Linked DNA regions of Homo sapiens: region 2 is linked to region 1. The links are contacts of gene promoters, found by promoter capture Hi-C in human tissues and cell types (Jung and others, 2019). All regions are on one chromosome and are shown on one strand. The core of a region is centred on a gene start or on the middle of the fragment in contact, and the rest is flanking DNA. Distances in the headings are between cores, read along the strand shown. Region 1 holds the start of POMT1 (protein O-mannosyltransferase 1). Region 2 overlaps NTNG2 (netrin G2).

Region 1 (5,518 bases), core at 1,559-4,058:
GATGACCCAATGAAACGGCTGCAAGTATGAAAGGAAAACGTGGGAATCAACTGCAATAACATGTTTTCAATCAGGGAGAGGTGAAGATAACCAAGAAACTGCTGTCAATTTCTCAGGCATGATAATGCAACTGTGGTTATGTGATTTTTGTTTTTAAGAATCCTCAGCCAGGCACGGTGGCTCACGCCTGTAATCCCAGCACTTTGGGAGGCCAAGGTAGGTGGATCACAAGGTCAGGAGTTCAAGATCAGCTTGGCCAACATGGTGAAACCCCTTCTCTACTAAAAATACAAAAATGAGCCAGGCGTGGTGGCAGGTGCCTGTAATCCCAGGTACTCGGGAGGCTGAAGTAGGAGAATCACGATCGCACCATTGCACTACAGCCTGGGCGACAGAGTAAAACTATGTCTCCAAAAAAAAAAAAAAAATCCTCATCTTTTACAGATATACCGCTGAATTATCTATGAATACTAGGATTTGCTGCAAAGTAAAAACCACTGCAGGGAGGGGCCTGGCTGTGAACTGATAAGGTGAAGCTGGGTAATGAAAATACTGGTGTGTGTGGGGGGGTCATTCATTATACTTGTCTCCCTGCTTTTGTATATGTTTGACGTTTTCCATAATAAAAAGTTAAACAAAAAAGAACATGCAGCAGGGCGGAGTGGCTCACGCCTGTAATCCTAACACTTTGGGAGACCCAGGTGGGTGGATCATGAGGTCAGGAGTTCAATACCAGCCTGGCCAAGATGGTGAAATCCCGTCTCTACTAAAAATACAAAAATTAGCTGGGTGTGGTGGCGGGCACCTGTAATCTCAGCTACTCGGGAGGCTGAGGCAGAGAATTGCTTGAACCCAGGAGGCAGAGGTTGCAGTGAGCCGAGATGGCACCACTGCACTCCAACCTGGGCGACACAGCAAGACTCCGTCTCAAAAACACACACACACACACACACACACACACACACACACATACACACATTAATCAGTTAATAAAGAGCCCTTCAATAATAACAGCAATCACTTCCCATTATGACAAAAACACATTCTAAAAAGTGCTCTCAACAGTGAAGACTTACTTCCAAATCCATTAATCCTCTGCCGTCCAGACTTTAAAACTGTTACTTAAGGCTGGCAACCAGATTTTCCTCTACTGCACCCCTTTAATGGGCCAAATTTCACCTGTTACAGACTCAGAAGGCAAGACCTAAAAGGTGTACTCTGCTGGGGCTGTCCTGGGGACAGACTGGTCTCTCCTCTCACTGCCAAAAACACCTATCACCAAGAAGCCAGGATTTCACTCTCCCATTTATGCTATTCAGTAAGGGCGCCTCCTGTCACAAAGTACAATTCTAGATTCACCCTGGGAATGGAGTCATTTAGCTTACACCACAGCCCGCGGGTAGGTGAGTCGCCACAGCCGGCTCAGTAACCCCATCCCAGTCAGGGCCACAAGGCTCAAGTTGATGTCAGCCGTCACCACTACAGGGCGCTTCAAAAATCCCCACATCTTGTAGAAAAGCGGGCTCAGGCAGACGCCCTAGAAAAGAAGGGAGGAGCCGTGGTCCATGAGGGCTCACGAGAGGCTACAGAAGGGATCCCCAGCCACCCGGCTCCCGGACACACGAGGAGAACCACAGCACAGCCGGGCTGCTGAGAAAGACCGAAGTTCCTGGAGCCTTGGTTCAGGTAGACATGTGGGGTGAGGGGCACTAGCAGTGAACTCGGGTGGGAATTCAGGGGATCTCAGGACTGGACATTCACTCCTTTCAACAACTCATTCCACAAAACCTGCCGAGCACGTCTTGGGCGCGAGAACACTGCTAAGGAACGCCAGGGTTTCTCCCCTCCCTCCCCGACGACCAGAAGCCCACAGTGCGGCCACAGCTACCTGACCCTGGGCAGCTCCTGGGTGCCATCTCAGCTGCTTACAGCCCAGGGACCCCAACCTGGCCGAGCCTCGGGGCCTCCTCATCTCTCCTCAAGGATGCATCTGCCCCCAGTGCCTCCCTGCCTTCTATCCCAGCGGCACATCATCCCCGGGTGCTCCCTTTCTCGCCTGGAGGGTGCATTTGCACCCTGCGCCCCCACGTTCTCCTCCAGGCTTCATCTTCCCTTGAGCTCCGCTTCTCTTGAGGCTGCATCAGGCCTGGGACACCCTGTCTCACACCAAAGCCGCATCTGGCCGTTGGCGCCCCGCTGGTCTCCTCAGGCCCCATCTACCCTGGACGCGCCCTTCCCTCCCTGAGCTGCATCTGCCTTGAGCGCCTTCGTCCCAAAAGGTCCCATCTGTCCTGGGAGTGCCTCCTCTCCCCTTGCAGACCGCATCTCCCTGGCCGGCCCTTCTTCCCCACAGGCCGCACCTGTCCCGTCCACCAACTCCCGAGGCTGCGTCGGCCCCAGCTCCGTCCTCACCCTGAGACTGCACCCGCAGCACGCCCTTCCTCCCTAGGGCTGCACGCGCCACGGAGTTCTTACTTCGGGGCTCGGCCGCCCGAACGCCGCATCTGCCCGGGCCCGAACCCCGCCCCCAGCTCCGGAAAGACGGGGACGCCCCCGGCCCCAGCCCGTCCGCAAGCCAGGGACCCGCGTCCGGCACTGACGGACTCCCCCAAGTCCGGGCTGGGCTCTCGTCCCCGGTGTCCCCAAATGTACCCGCGTTTCTCCGAGTCCACACAGAGCCGCGCCCGGCTCCCGGCAACGCCTCGGAACCGTCCGACTGGGCCGACGGTTGGGGGTGAGGCCGCTCGGCACTCCGCACCACCCACCGCCCTGCTCAACGTTCGATTCACCGAGCCTGCGGGGCCAGACGGGCAGCAGCGCGCGTGCGCACTGGGAGAGGGTGACGCGCGTGCGCAGCGGGCGAGGGCGCCGGTCCCGGAGGAGAGGCAGGTGTGAAACGCGGCGACCTCCCCTCTCTCGGGTGCTACTGTTTTGTGTGCCAGGATTTCTGTGTACTCTAAGCAGACGTGCAGATTTTAAAAAGCGCAGTGGGCTCCCACCCATCTTCTGCTCCTTGCTTTTTCACTCCATCTGGCGTGAAGATCTTAATTCTGCGTCTGCACAACGGCGTTCTGCCGGGCGCGCCAGTTTGCTCCTAGTTTTTTTCTTTTCTTTTCTTTTCTTTTTTTTTGAGACGGAGTTTCGCTCTTGTTGCCCAGGCTGGAGTGCAATGGCGCGATCTCGGCTCACCGCAACCTCCGCTTCCCGGGTTCAAGCGATTCTCCTGCCTCAGCCTCCCGAGTAGCTGAGATTGAAGGCGCACGCCACCACGCCCGGTTAATTTTTGTATTTGTAGTAGAGACAGGGTTTCACCATGTTGGCCAGGCTGGTCTCGAACTCCTGACCTGAAGTGATCCGCCCACCTCGGCCTCCCAAAGTGCTGGGATTACAGGCGTGAGCCACTGCGTCCGACCTTAATTTTTTTTTTAAGACACGGGGTCTCGCTCTGTCGCCCAGGCTGGAGTACAGTGGCAGGACCACGGCTTGCTGCAGCCTCGACCTCTCTGCCCGAAGCGATCCTCCCTCCTCGGCCTCCAGAGCAGCTGAGACCACAGGCACGTGCCCCCACGCCCGCGGGCGCTCCTAGTTTCCTTGCCGAAAAACATCGATGCCACGATCCTGCTTGCACATACATCTAGCGGTGAAGTGGCTGAGGGTAAGGGCATTTAAAACGGACCTAGGGCCGGGGGCGGTGGCTCACGCCTGTAACCCCAGCACTTTGGGTGGCCGAGGTGGGAGGATCCGTGAGCCCGCTTGAGTCCAGGAGAGCCTGGGCAACACAGCGAGACCCCGTCTCTACAAAAAAATACAAAAATTAGCGGGGCCCCTTGGCGTCTGCCTGCAGTCCCAGCTACAAGGGAGGCTGAGGCAGGAGATCACTTGGGGCAGAGAGGTCGAGGCTGCAGTGAGCCTTGGTCTCACCACTGCACTCCAGCCTGGACTACAAAGTGAGACCGTCTCAAAACAAAAAACAAAACCAAAAAAACCTGGACATCAGTGGGGGCTGCATGACCATCAGAGGCTCCAGTGGGGGCATCTCCCCTAAACTCCGTGGCAGAAGACTGGAGGCTTCTTCCTCCATTCCCAGGGCTCCTCCTCATCCATCAGCCTCTCCAGCCCCCTCTGCTGAGGGTCAAGAGCCTTCCCAAAGGCCTGCTTTGGAGCAGACATGGTACTTTTGGTTGGGTCAATGCACCCCTTCCCATGTTTTCCCTGAACAGTCGGCACCCAGAGCAGGGTAACTGACAGCAACGCAACCAGGCTGATGGATCACTCTTCTCAGCCTCGCTCCTTCTTGATCTCCTGGTCTATTTGTATGTTAATCTATACAGACCAAAAGGGCACACTGCAGGTTTAATAACCTTCATTATGGTTCTTGGCTGCCTGCAAGACTTTTTTTCCATGTTGGGCAACATAGCATTAGATGACACCAGTTAGAATTTCGTGGTTACTTCTTTATGGCTTACCCTTGAGGGGTTATGTGACTCACCCAAGATCCCACAGAGAGGCAAGGAGCTGGGGCTCACCTGGGTTTGTGGCCAGAGCCTGCAGGCAACTGTATTTACAGTGGGCAGGGAGGGTTCCCTGGGCCCCAGGAGGGAGTGGGGCTGGGCTGTTAAGCTTTGGTTCATGCCATGCTAACAGTGGTGGTGCCTCAGGACTTACAGCCTCCATCTTGCAAGCCCCCAACCTTAGGACTAGCCTCTTTCAGGGCTGGTCTCCGTTTGAGATTTTGTGAGCCACCTGTCCCTAGGGAGCAGTAAATCAGGGCAGTGAGTGTGGCTAGTTAAAGCTGAGATGCCCATGGCCAGGTCCCCAACTCTCTTCCATAGTCAAAAGGCTTAGAAGGAAGTTGAGGGACTGGGGTTCCTCATGGAAACAGCGTTTTATTTCTTGGGGGTAATTTATAAGTTTTCTTAGCTGGTTCTAGGCACTAAGCTAAAAGCTACTGGTGACTTTGAATCCACACTACGCCATGAGGTCGATACCATTACAATCTGTGTTTTATGATTAAGGAGACTGACTCAGGTGGTGAAACGTCTTTCCCCAGGTCAGTGAGGCAATGGCAAAACCGAGAACTGCTGCCTCAGCCCATTCTTACCTTTTACCCTTCGCTACCCCAGGCCTGGCTTGCTCCCTCCCCACCCCAAAGCACAGCATAATCCTCCTCCACTTCCTGCAAAAGCACCGCTAGAAGTGACAACACAACACGCCACATCAAATGCTTACCTCCTCTGACCAGCTCGTTTCTCACGGCAAGTGACGGGGCCACAGGCAGGCACTGTGCACAACCAGATGCCATCCGTGGGAAGAGGGTGGAGTGCTTGATGCTGCCGCATTTGGAAGATGCTTCTTAGCCACGGGTTTCAATCCCTTCTCTACCCACACAGCTTCTGTTAAGGCATTTCAGCCGTGCCACTCCTAATTTCCGTGTGAACTCTGTAAAATTAGAATTCTTTGATCTGTAGGTCTCTCTGGTCAAATGACCAAGAAACGAGGGATGTACAACCTGAGAAAG
Region 2 (5,518 bases), core at 2,007-4,506, 730 kb before region 1:
ACGTGGTTCTCAGGCTGACCCCTGCCTAACCAGCTCCGCTCCAAGGACCAGACAAGCCCGTGACTGCCTGGGGCAAGGCTCTCAGGGATTGGAGGTGAATCCCACATTGTCAATGGAGGATTTGGTGAGGAAGGTCACCATCCCTAAGAATGGGGGGGCATCCCTTGATGTTCCTACGAAGGGACACAGTACTCACCCACCCACCCACCCTCCAGCAAGAAAGCCAATGTGGCTGCCCCCGAACAAGGAAGGACAACGGCCACCCTCTTGAAACACCATCTGTGTATCTCTAGAGGACCCAGCTTCCCTTTTGTGATGGGATGAGGGACTGACCCAGTGGTCAAGGGCATGGGAGACTAGAGAAACAGCCTGTGCCCAGGAGAGATGGTGGGCACTCCCACCTGTGGGCCACCTAGTCCTGCCCCCTTCACTTTGTCCCTCCAGAGATAATGAGGAGATGAGGCATCCTCTAAGTGTCCCAAAGAGCAGCATCGGTGACCCGTGTGTCCCAGATTCTGCTTCAACCAACACGAGCCCCAGGGCCACACCTCCCAGGGGAGCCGGGATGGGCTATTTCTGGCATCTGCTCTGCCTGCTGTGTGGCCTGCCCACTGTGCCCAAGTTGGCTTCTGACTCATACCTGCTCCCAGCTCCCTTGGGGAGGGAGGCCTGTAGGGAAGAGAGACTCAGTTTAACCTTGACCCAGCTACTCCAGGAGGGTTTTCGGAGCCAGGCATCGGTCCTCTATCCTGCACCGTCTTTTTCCAGCGGCGGATGGGGAACAGGTGTCAGGGAGGGCTGATGGGGCCCCAGGTCCATCCTCTTACCTTGGAATTCTTCAATAGGCATCACTTGAGGAGATTTGGGCTTGAGCTGGAAAAGTTTGTAGCCCTTGGCAGGGGCAGGGGCAGCGGCAGGGGTGCCCACAGCTTGGAGAGATGAGAAACAGGTTCTTTCGTCTGTCATGGTCCCACTGCCCAGGGAAGAGCCCAGCAAAGGCTTCCGAGCCGCCCTGGGCCAGCTCTAGGGCAGGCAGCCTTGTCGCCTGCTCAGATGTGAGGGAGGGAGAGGCCCCTCTGGCCTCAAATCACACAGCCCCTCTCCTCGAAGAGCCCAGGGAGGTGGGGCCCCTTCCTGAAGGAAACACAGCACATCCCAAGCTTGCAAATCAGCCCTGCCCTTGGTCCCCTCTCTGAGACCATGGACACATCTGGCTGGATTAATCCTCCAAATGACTTCTGTAACCCCTGACACCCCCGCGCCCTGCTAAGACCTTCTTGGAAGCCAAACTGTTTTTAGATAGATTGACATCACATTGCACACCACGCCCGTCTCTTGCTCTCCCCACCGCCTCTCCAAACTTCCTGGAGCATCAAACCCAGAGACTAAACTTGGCATTTAAGGACTTTGGCATCTCCCTTCCTTTCTGAAACACTCTTCCTGCTCCAGCCGAAGTGAATCCTTCGCTGTCCCTGGAGTCCCACTCGCAAGTGCTGTCAAGCCAGGAACACGGACGGCACCTGCCTTCCACTGCCCAGAATCCCGCTGGGACCCCAACGCCCTATCTGTGGGTGAGCAGGCCACTGTCCCGGGATCGTCACTACCTTGGCTTCCCTCTGGGGGTCTGTGGTGCCCTGGTTGGCCCAGGGTAGGGAAGCGATGGCTCCCGCCAGCTCTGTCTCCATCACCACAGAGGACACCAGGCCCAGGTCCTCCAGGTTTCTAGGAACCGAGCCTCAGACCCTCTCTAAACATGCTTCCAGCGCCAGAGCTTCCTGCCAGTAGAGGGCGCTCAAAGCCCTGCTCGCTGCTCAGAGCTGGGGCTGGAGGAAATTTGAACATGTGAGCTGGAAGGAACAGCTCACCTGTTCCCTAGACCTCAGGCCCTAATTCCCCACCCAGGCTTGGTGAGCTGGGGCCAGGGACAATTTCCCTTCTGGAGAGTCGGGCAGGCCTGCGCGTTTCCTTGGCATGTCTGTCTATGGCTACAGATGAGCCCTGTGTCTCCTCCCACGTAGCAGGAGGATGTCAGTGTCTTCCAGGACCCCGCCCTCCCTCCTTTAACCCACACATTTTCCACTTTGTCAGGCTCCCTGCCATCCCACTGCCAAGCCTTTGCCCCGGCTGGCCCTGCGGCCTGGAATGTGCTGCCTTCTCCCTTCACCCACCACAGTCCACCCTCCGAGGTCTCATGGCCCCCGCTCCTGCAGGAAGCCCCCTCTGACTCTCTGATCCAGCAACTGCCCAGGTGTCCTGTGAGCAAGGGCAGCTGGAGAGGGGGGTTCCTGTCGTGGGAGGCGGGGCCTCTACCAGACTCCGAAGCCCTCGGAGGGAGTGCTGGTGGAAGGGCTTGGCGTGGGGGTGCCACATGGAACCTCTTGAAGCAGGTGAGCTTGGGGGCAGAGCTGGTAGACCTGCTCTACCAGGCCGCTCCCTCACCACTGTGCCCTAGAGCTCCCCAGGCACCGACATTCTACACCCGTGCCCTCAGTTGGTTCCTGCGGCCCCCCTCCAACCTCAGGTCCCCACCATGCACACCTGCTACTTCCACTACAGAGGGAGGGGCCTACGAGTCTAAGAGGGCGCTTCCCCGGGGTCTCAGGCCCATCACAGGCCTTGCCCCCCCATACCTTCTGCACGGGAGGCCACCTGGGACCACCTGCTCGAGAGAGGGGCAGCCGTAGATGGCCTGGTCCACTCTTGGGGGGAAGAAGAGAAGAAACCAAGTTATGCGAGGGGGTGGTGCTGAGGGAAGCTGGGTACATACTGAGGCATCACAGCCCCGCACCCCACAGGCCCCTTAGAAGCAGCAGCACTATAAGGAGAGGCTCTGTCTACACTGGCCAAAGGAATTGGGTCCAAATCTACTACATAGGCAGCATCTACACTATTTCAGCCTGTGGAGGGCACATGCAGACTTAAAGCCCGATAGATGAGAGGTGAACCCATGCCTGAGAATCTGCATATTCTTCAGCGAGACCCTTCTACACTCCCTGTGCCGTCCCCGTTCTGACTGAAGGACAGAGCTAGACCAGGTCCCGCCTCTGGGCCCAGACCTCTCTGAGCTGATGTCTCTGGCTAATGGCTGCGAAGTGGGACATGTGTTCCGGCCAAGATCTTACATGTGTCCAGAAGTGTCCTGGAAGGTGTCCTTCCTGTCCAGCCGCAATCCAGGGACCGGAGCCTTCCCCAGCATCTGACCTGCTTCCCTGATCACTGCCCTTCTACCTTCCTGACCCCTGGCCTGGCCCATTTTCACCAGGGACCCCAGCATGAACCAGTGACACAACGCTCAGCCCGTAGACTAACGGGACACACAGCCAGCAAGGCAGGCAGGCAGGGCTGGCAAAGAACTGCCCTGTGCCCAAATTTCAAAGGACAAACCCAGAGGGACAGGGGAGCGCTGCTGTTTTCCGCTTCTTGAAGGGATTATACACAACGGTGGCTGTGGGGAAAGAAAAGGAAAAGCTACCAGCTAACAAGTGCGGAAGACTTTCCAGCTGGGAGCGGGGAGCTTTGGACATGAATTGACTTTAATATGATGTTCAGTGGGAAGATGAGGCCGCCAGGCCCAAATTGGCAAGGGCTTAATTAGAGCCATGAGAAAGCCAGCCCTGAAGGCATTTGCTTCAGAGCCTGTCTCCCTCCATCCTCCGTGGCCCAGCCCAGGAAAGGATTAGTGTCTCCAGCGGCGTTTTCCGCCCGCAGCGCTGTCCTCCAGACAGCTTGACATTGGCAGGCGGGAGAAACATCTGGCCCAGGAGTTCAGAGGCCCAGCTGGACTCTGTTCAAAGAGCCCGAAGCACCTGTTGGGAGGCACTCGGGGGTATTCAGGATCTTTCAGGGACCAGGGTCTTGGGGAGGGAGAGAGTCCTGGCTTGGCTGCCCAGGGACACACTCAGGTGTGTGGGAAGCAAGTTCTCGCCATGGCCTGTGTGCTGTGCCAAGGCCCCATGGAAGCCCGGTCTGCTCCTTTGGAACTGGGAAGCCCTGCAAGCCAGGCCTTGGAGACAGCACTACTTGGCCGGGTGCGGTGGCTCACGCCTGGAATCCCAGCACTTTGGGAGGCTGAGGCGGGTGGATCACTTGAGGTCAGGAGTTCAACACCAGCCTGACCAACATGGTGAAACCCTGTCTCTCTAAAAAGACAAAAAGTAGCTGAACATGGTGACAGGTGCCTGTAATCCCAGCTACTCGGGAGGCTGAGGCAGGAGAATTGCTTGAACCTGGGGGGGCGGAGGTTGCAGTGAGCTGAGATTGCTCCATTGCACTCCAGCCTCAGCGACAAGAGCGAAACTCCATCTCAAAAAAAAAAAAAAAAAAGATAGCTCTACCTCATAGCCCCTGGAGGCCTCAGGACAATAGCTTTGGGTGGCTGAGTTGGCGAGCCCTGAGTTCAAATCCTGCCCGTGCCTCTCCATAATTCTGAGACCTTGAGCAGCTGCCCCTTTTTTCTTCTGAAACAGCTTGATTGAGGTGTAATTTACATATCATAAAATCCAGCTGCTTCTTCCTAAGCCTCGATCCCCTCACCTGTGGGACTAGGAAAATAACAGCCTCCATCTCACGGAGCTGTGAGCCCAGAATACAATGATATGATGATACAATGATACGAGCACAGCCCAGGAGAACTCACCCTCAGCTACTGCAATGATCGTTTTCATTAATGGGGGCTCTGGACAGGGGCTTCAGTTGCTGAAGAGGAGGGAGGAGCCCCTAGATGTGGGCTGTAGGGGCCACTGGCTGTCACATTGGAGCCACCTCCTCCCCTAATGTCCTGCTTCTTGATACAGGGCTGAGGGTGCAGAGCAGCACTGTCTTGCCGAGAGGGAGGGTGTGCCTTCTGCTCACTGAGGGGGTCCTGGGGACCCTCACCTCCCCTGCATTTCCCACTCTGGCCTCTGACTTTTCCTCTTTAATTCCCAACTTTGCACAATCTGCCCAGCCTCCCACGGCTGCCCTGGCACCAAGTCAGAAGCAGCTCTGCAAATGGATTCCTCTGTGTGTGTGTGTGTGTACATGTGCGTGTGCATGCCTGTGTGTGTGCATGCATGTGTGTGTGTGCATGTGTGCACTTGCACATGTGATATGGAGAGTATCTGGCCTCCCAGCCAAACCCCTGTTTGGAGACAGGCACAGCACCCACCACCACTGTTTTTGCTTCTGTCTGCCCACCACAGGCTCAGCAGCAAAGCACAGGTCCCTTGTGGCTGGGCCAACCTATGTCTGAAGTCCAGAATTCTCAGAGTGACCCATGTCTTCCACCCCAAAGAGGATTCCTGGGTCAGGAGGCTTCCCGGAAATCCTCCAATCTTTTGGCTAGCCCCTGCCTCCTGTAAATGCCTCCTGCAGAAAAGGAAGGATGTAGAAAGAGGTGGGGTGTGCTGCCCCCAGGGGAGCTGCTCTGGATGGCCTAGGAAGGAGGAGGTCTTTCTCTCAGCATTTGCCCCTGTCTGGGGAGCCTGAGTGTCCACCCAGCAACAGGCCGAGGCAGGAGCTGATGGAGGGGACTCTGCCC

What was found. The method cuts DNA at HindIII sites, captures the fragments that hold promoters and counts their contacts. A contact is called where the count stands out against the background at its distance.
Region 2: a fragment that was not itself captured here is called in contact with the fragment with the promoter of POMT1 in region 1 in 2 of the 25 tissues and cell types used here (IMR-90 fibroblasts and lymphoblastoid cells).

Annotation. Positions count from the first base shown.
Region 1 is chr9:131,500,208-131,505,725 of GRCh38, reverse strand. It overlaps POMT1 (protein O-mannosyltransferase 1), which reads right to left and starts at 2,808. Exons shown (of 20, transcript NM_001077365.2): 1 at 2,653-2,808; 2 at 1,386-1,537. The coding sequence starts at 1,507. RefSeq lists enhancers at 1,218-1,287, 1,298-1,377, 1,858-1,917, 1,289-2,154, 2,155-3,022 and 1 more and silencers at 2,488-2,637, 2,708-2,907. The HindIII fragment of the contact is 15,044 bases long and covers 1-5,263 here.
Region 2 is chr9:132,232,832-132,238,349 of GRCh38, reverse strand. All of the region lies in intron 5 of NTNG2 (netrin G2), which reads right to left. Among named protein-coding and RNA genes, the nearest start is that of NTNG2, 74 kb to the right of the region's middle. The HindIII fragment of the contact is 6,849 bases long and covers 1-5,518 here.